Regions from separate parts of the Homo sapiens genome. Here region 1 is linked to region 2. The links are contacts of gene promoters, found by promoter capture Hi-C in human tissues and cell types (Jung and others, 2019). All regions are on one chromosome and are shown on one strand. Each heading gives the region's core, a stretch centred on a gene start or on the middle of the fragment in contact. The rest is flanking DNA. Distances are from core to core; before and after follow the strand shown. Region 1 overlaps ZNF813 (zinc finger protein 813). Region 2 holds the start of ZNF665 (zinc finger protein 665).

Region 1 (2,956 bases), core at 190-2,689, 300 kb after region 2:
CATCGTCCATACCTTGCAGTTCATTGGCGAACTCATACTGGAGACAAACCTTATAAATGTCATGATTGAGGCAAGGTCTTCAGTCAAGCTTCATCCTATGCAAAACATAGGAGAATTCATACAGGAGAGAAACCTCACGTGTGATGATTGTGGCAAAGCCTTTACTTCACGTTCACACCTCCTTAGACATCAGAGAATGCACACTGGACGGAAATCTTACAAATGTCATCAGTGTGGCAAGGTTTTCAGTCTGACTTCACTCCTTGCAGAATATCAGAAAATTCATTTTGAGATAATTGTTCCAAATGCAATGAGTAGAGCAAACCATCAAGCAGTAATTGACATTAAAGTGTTTATGTTAAGAGGATTGGGCCAGGTACAGTGTCTCACACCTGTAATCCCAGCACTTTGGGAGGCCAAGGCGGGTAGATCACTTGAGGTCAGGAGTTTCAGATCAGTCTGGCCAACAAACATGAGCCACTTTTCCCAGTTTGCTTTTTGTTCTTTAACAAAAACTGATAGGGATTTTTATGGGTACCGTGTTGAATCTAAATCACATTGGGTTATATAATCATTTAACAATATTAATTTTTCCAATCCATCAATATGGGTTATATGTCTGTATATGTTTTTAATCATATTGATGTATATTTGTAGATTTCAAGGTACAAACTTCTCACCTTTTTACTTTTATTTCTATTTCTTTAAGTTCTCTAGCAAATGGAAGTGTTTTTAAATTTTCTTTTAAAATTGTTTATTGTTACAAACTTCTCATCTTTTTGCTTTTATTCCTAAGTATTTCTTACTTTAAGTTCTCTAGCAAATGGAAGTGTTTTTAAATTTTCTTTTAAAATTGTTTATTGTTAATGTATGGAAATTCAGCTAATTTTTGGTGCTGATATTGTACTGTGCAGATACACTGAATCTGTTTATTACTTCCAGTAGTATTTTGGTTGAGTCTTTGTGATTTTCTACACAGAAGATCATGTCATCTACAAACACATATAATTTTACTTCTTTCTTTCTGATTTGGATGGGTTTGATTTCTTTTGCTATTTCATTGCTCTGGCTAGGACAGCCAGTATTTATTGAATAGAAGGGGTGAGAGCATTCTTCCATCATGTGAGATCCTACAGGAAAATCATTCCATGTTCCCTGCTTCGTTATCTACTCGTTGGTCATTTCATGGATGGCCTTTCTATTGTTGAGGTAAATTTCCTTTTCTGTCTATTTTGTTCAGAATTTCTATGATGAGTGGATTTTGAATTTTGTGAAATACTTTTTCTCCATCTATTGAGATGATGTGGTTTTCATCTTTCATTCTGTTCAAGTGGCATATCACATTGATTTGCTTGACTATGTTGAACCATCCTTGCATCCCAGAAATAAGTGGCACTTGAGTATCTACAGTCCTTTTTACATCCTCTTGAATACAGCTTTTTAGTACAAGGGGTCTTCAAGAAGTTCATGGAAAAATACATATTTTGCATATTATGAGAAAATTGTGTATGAATTTCCCAGTTTTTGCACCAAAATAAACTGGTACGAATCTGTTATGTCTGAACAGGTCCTAGTTTGAGGCACCCAGAAGGATAAGACATGAGTTTTAAAAGAGACTTTCTCTGCCGGGCGCAGTGGCTCATGCCTGTAATCCCAACACTTTGGGAGGCCAAGGTGGGTGGATCACCTGAGATCCAGAGTTCGAGACCAGCCTCACCAACATGGAGAAACAGCATCTCTACTAAAAATACAAAATTAGCCAGGCATGGTGGCAAATGCCTGTAATCCCAGATACTCTGGAGGCTGAGGCAGGAGAATGGCTTGAACCCGGGAGGCAGAGATTGCTGTGAGCCGAGATTGCACCATTGCACTCCAGCCTGGTCAACAAGAGCGAAACTCTGTCTCAAAAAAAAAAAAAAGAAAAGAAAAGAAAAGAGACTCTATCAAAGCAATATAAATCCTGCTAAAATTGAAACAAAAAGGAGCATCAAATTTACAGTGAGACCAGATGCAGTGGCTCAGGCCTGTAATCCCAGCACTTTCAGAGGCCAAGACAGGTGGGTCATGTAAGCCCAGGTATTCAAGACAAGCCTGGGCAACATGGTGAAACCCCCTTGTCTACAAAAAATACAAAAATTAGCTGGGCACGGTAGCACATGCATGCAGGGCCAGCTGCTGTGGAGTCTGTGGTAGGAGGATAGCTCGAGCCTGGGAGGTTGAGGCTGCAGTGAGCTATGATCATGCCACTGCATTCCAGCATGGGTGATGGAGCGAGATACTGGCTCAAAAAAAAAAATACTTCTTGTAAAGTTTGGGTAGAGGAATAATGAAATCATTGATGCTTTATGAAAAGATTATGGAGATGATGCCCAGAAGAAATAAACAGTTTGTAAATGGATAACTTAGTTTGAGTTGGGACAAGACAATGTTGAAGGTGATGCATGGAGTGGCAGGCACACCATCCACATCAGTTTTTTTGTTTGTTTTTGTTGTTGTTGTTTTTTTGAGATGGTGTCTCGCTCTGTCTCCCAGGCTGGAATGCAGTGGTGCAATCTCGGCTCACTGCAACCTCTGCCTCCCGGGTTCAAGTGATTCTCCTGTCTCTGCCTCCTTAGTAGCTGGGACTACAGGCGCGTGCCACCACATCAGCTAATTTTTGTATTTTTAGTAAGACGGGGTTTCACCATGTTGGCAAGGCTGGTCTTGAACTCCTGACCTCACGATCTGCCCACCTCAGCCTCCCAAAGTGTGGAGATTACAGGCATGAGCCACCATGCCCCTTGCACATCAGTTTTACAAAAAAATTTATCTTGTTTGTGCCACAATGAAGAGGACTGACAGGTAACAGCAGAAACAATAGTCAGGAGTTTGAGAACAGGCTGATTAACATGGTGAAACCCCGTCTCTACTAAAAATACAAAAATTAGCTGGGTGTGGTGGCGGGTGCTTGTAATCC
Region 2 (3,237 bases), core at 363-2,862:
AGGCAAGAGAATCGCTTGAACCCAGGAGGCGGAGTTACAGTGAGTCGAGATCGTGCCATTGCACGCCAGTCTGGGAAATAGAGTGAGATTCTGTCTTAAGAAAAAAAAAATTTGTTAGATTATGGATACAGAAATCAATATATCACGATGTAATTATCCATATCCAATGAAACCACCATGCATCTGGGCCATAGTCCCCCTCTTTCTTCCTTCCTGTGTGTTTCCCTCCCTCATTCTGTACATCTCTCTCATTCTCTTCTTCTCTCTCCTTGTTTCTTTTCTGTGTTTCAGCCTGGGTCTCTGCTCCTCATTTTGAGCCCCTCTCTTCTCCTGCTGTTTCTCCTTCCCTCTATCCTTCTCTTCCACTTGTTCTGTTCCATTCTTGCAACTTGTTTCACCTCTTATTCCTCTTTCACCCGTCTTTTGGTTGTCCCCAATCTCCATCTATTTCTGCCTCTTTCTTCCCTTATCTCTGCTCTCCCTGTTAAATCCCCTCTTCCCTGTTTCACTTCCTTGTCCCCACTCTTTGGCACCCCCAGATCCCAGGTCTCCCCCTGCTGTGGTTCTCCCTCTGCTCTCCTTGTCACCAGCTGCCCCTTCTTGCTGTCCCAGCACCACGCTGCTCTGTCTATCCTGGCTCCAAATACCCCCTCCTCTCCCTAACTCTCCGTCTGAGGAGCTGCCCCTCTCCCTACCTTGCTGTCCTTCATCTCTCTAGACAGCGAGCTTTTCTCTACATTTCTCCAGTTGTTTCTCCATCCTGTTACTTTCTCAGCGACTTCTTTCACCCTTACTGTCTCTTTGTAAATCCTGACCCATCCTCTACTTTGCCATGTTTACTGGTTTCCCTCATTCTTTCCTCTGTCTCCGTTTTTCTACTTTTCTCTCAGCCCCCCTCTCTGTCTCCTGATCCCCTTGGCCCACACATTCACAGGGAGGGTTTGGAGTAAGACACCTGGATCCTGGAGGAGCACATTTTCCAGCGGGTGGAGCTGGGCAGGCAAGAACACCGGGTATCACAGGACAAGGCCCGGGCACCTCCCCAACGCGGGCTCAGGGGAAACGGTGACTGCGAAGGGGAGGCCTAGGGAGCAGCAGGGCCCGGCACGAGGAGGAGGGAGGTGGGGGGCGACGGCGCCTTAGGAGAGGGGTGGGGTATGCAGGATCCCAGGACCAGGCAGAGGCGCGGCCTCCCCGGGACTGGGGCTGCGGCGCTAACGCTCCAGTAGCTGACTAGGGCGAGGTTAGGGGACGGTAAAATCCTGCACCCACTTCGCAGATGAGGACTTCACAGGGCGCAGGTCAGTAAAGGGTTTTAAGCAGGAAACGGCGCAGGAAAGGAGGTGTCTGCATGGTCTGAAGGCCGAAAGACCGCGGGCAGGACCAGCCTGTGTGATTTTAACCCAAAGCGATGCGACCCCCAGAGTCTCGCGGCAAAGTCTGAATTTACATGGAATGGAGGGAGCCGTGCGGGGACTTTAAGGGCTATACGAACCCCCGGACATCGGGTACGGAGGAGCAGGGGACTCCGAAACGCAGGTTTAATCTAGATAGAGGGAAACTCACGCGGCGACTAACAGCCTTCACTCCAAGAGATCTGCTTCCGGGTTTGCAAGAAACTGCCCGCGCAGTAGGCAAAGGGGCGGGTTGCGGTGGGGAAAGGCCAGGCGTTGGGAGGGACTGAGAGCATAGGGTGGGCGGGGCCGGGGCGGGGCCTGAACCCTGGAGGCGGAGGTTGCAATGAGCCGATATCGCGCCATTGCACTCCAGCCTGGGTGACAGAGTGAGACTTCGTCTCTCCCAAAAAAAAAAAAAAACAAAACTTAGGCTATCTAAAAGTTTAACCAATGGCCAGTAATATAAGCAATCATGCATATGTAATGAAGGCGCCATAACAACCCAAAAGGAGAGGATTCAGCGGAGCTTCTGGATAGGTGAACACTGGGAGGCTCCTGCAGCGTGGTGCACCCAGGGAGGGCACCAAGGCTCAACGCCCCTTCTCCCATGCCTCACCTCACTGATCCCTTCCATCTGGCTGTTCTTCTGTCAACTTTGTAATATCCTTTATAATACGTAAATCTATGTAAAGTGTTTCCCTGTATTTTGTGAGCCACTCTAGCAAATTCGTTGAACCTGAGGAGGGGGTCAAGGGACTCCTGGATTTATATCTGATCTGTAAGCACAAGTCACAACCTCTGCTTGAGACTGGCATTGAAATGTGTGCACTATTGTGGGACTGAGCCCTCAACGTGTGGGATCTGATGCCATGTCCCGGCAAAATGGAACGGAATGAGAGAACACGCACCTGGTGTCTGTGGCAGGATTGCTTGCTTGGTGTGTGTGGGAAAACCCAGTACCTCTGGGCTAACTGTAGCATTCTGTGTTGTGAGAGAACAGTAGAAGAAACTGAATCAGTGTTTCCTATATTCTTAAATACGAATATGTGAGGTTTGTTGTTGTTTTTTTTTTTTTTTTTTTTTTTTTAGACAAGAGTCTTGCTCTTGTCGCCCAGGCTGGAATGCAATGGCATGATCTCGGCTCACTGAGCCACCGCCCCAGCGTGAAGGCATTTTTGAGCAAGTTATGTCTCCCTAATTCTGTTTTATTGTACTTTTCCCTAAGTAGTTATAATAGCCTCTAAATCTGTGTGGAGTTTTCAGTTTTGTGGACAATACAATAAATAGACAAATAAAAACCCAAACACAAGCTGATCTCTATAGAAGTGTTAGATATTATTTTCAACACACTAAGTGATACTCCGTATCTAGATAAGCTAAAGCACGAATGATGTCTTCTGAGGTGACAAGGTCCACAGTGGCTTTACAGAAACACTGGCCAGAAGTAAAAACTGTGATGATAATGGCAATAGCAATGACTGACTTTTCTGAACACTATGTGCAAGGCATTATTCGGAATACTTTACCTGTATTAACTCAAATAACAACATAATAGCCCATGAGAAAAAGATCTTTTCCTATCTTACTAGGAAACAACTGTGTCGGCCGGGCGCTGTGGCTCACGCCTGTAATCCCAGCACTTTGGGAGGCCGAGCTGGGCGGATCACGAGGTCAGGACCGGATCACGAGCCGGGCGGATCACGATGGTCACCAGGAGACCATCCTGGCTAACACGGTGAAACCCCGTCTCTAATGATAATACAAAAAAATTAGCCGGGCGTGGTGGCGGGCGCCTGTAGTCCCAGCTACTCTACTCGGGAGGCTGAGGCAGGAGAATGGC

The links. The method cuts DNA at HindIII sites, captures the fragments that hold promoters and counts their contacts. A contact is called where the count stands out against the background at its distance.
Region 1: a contact is called between a fragment that was not itself captured here and the fragment with the promoter of ZNF665 in region 2, in 1 of the 25 tissues and cell types used here (spleen).

What each region holds. Positions count from the first base shown.
Region 1 is chr19:53,492,739-53,495,694 of GRCh38, forward strand. It overlaps ZNF813 (zinc finger protein 813), which reads left to right. Exons shown (of 4, transcript NM_001004301.4): 4 at 1-2,956. Among named protein-coding and RNA genes, the nearest start is that of ZNF813, 26 kb to the left of the region's middle. RefSeq lists an enhancer at 1-544. The HindIII fragment of the contact is 8,734 bases long and covers 1-2,956 here.
Region 2 is chr19:53,191,746-53,194,982 of GRCh38, forward strand. ZNF665 (zinc finger protein 665) reads right to left here and starts at 1,613. Exons shown (of 4, transcript NM_024733.5): 1 at 1,567-1,613. RefSeq lists an enhancer at 1,429-1,578. The HindIII fragment of the contact is 23,654 bases long and covers 1-3,237 here.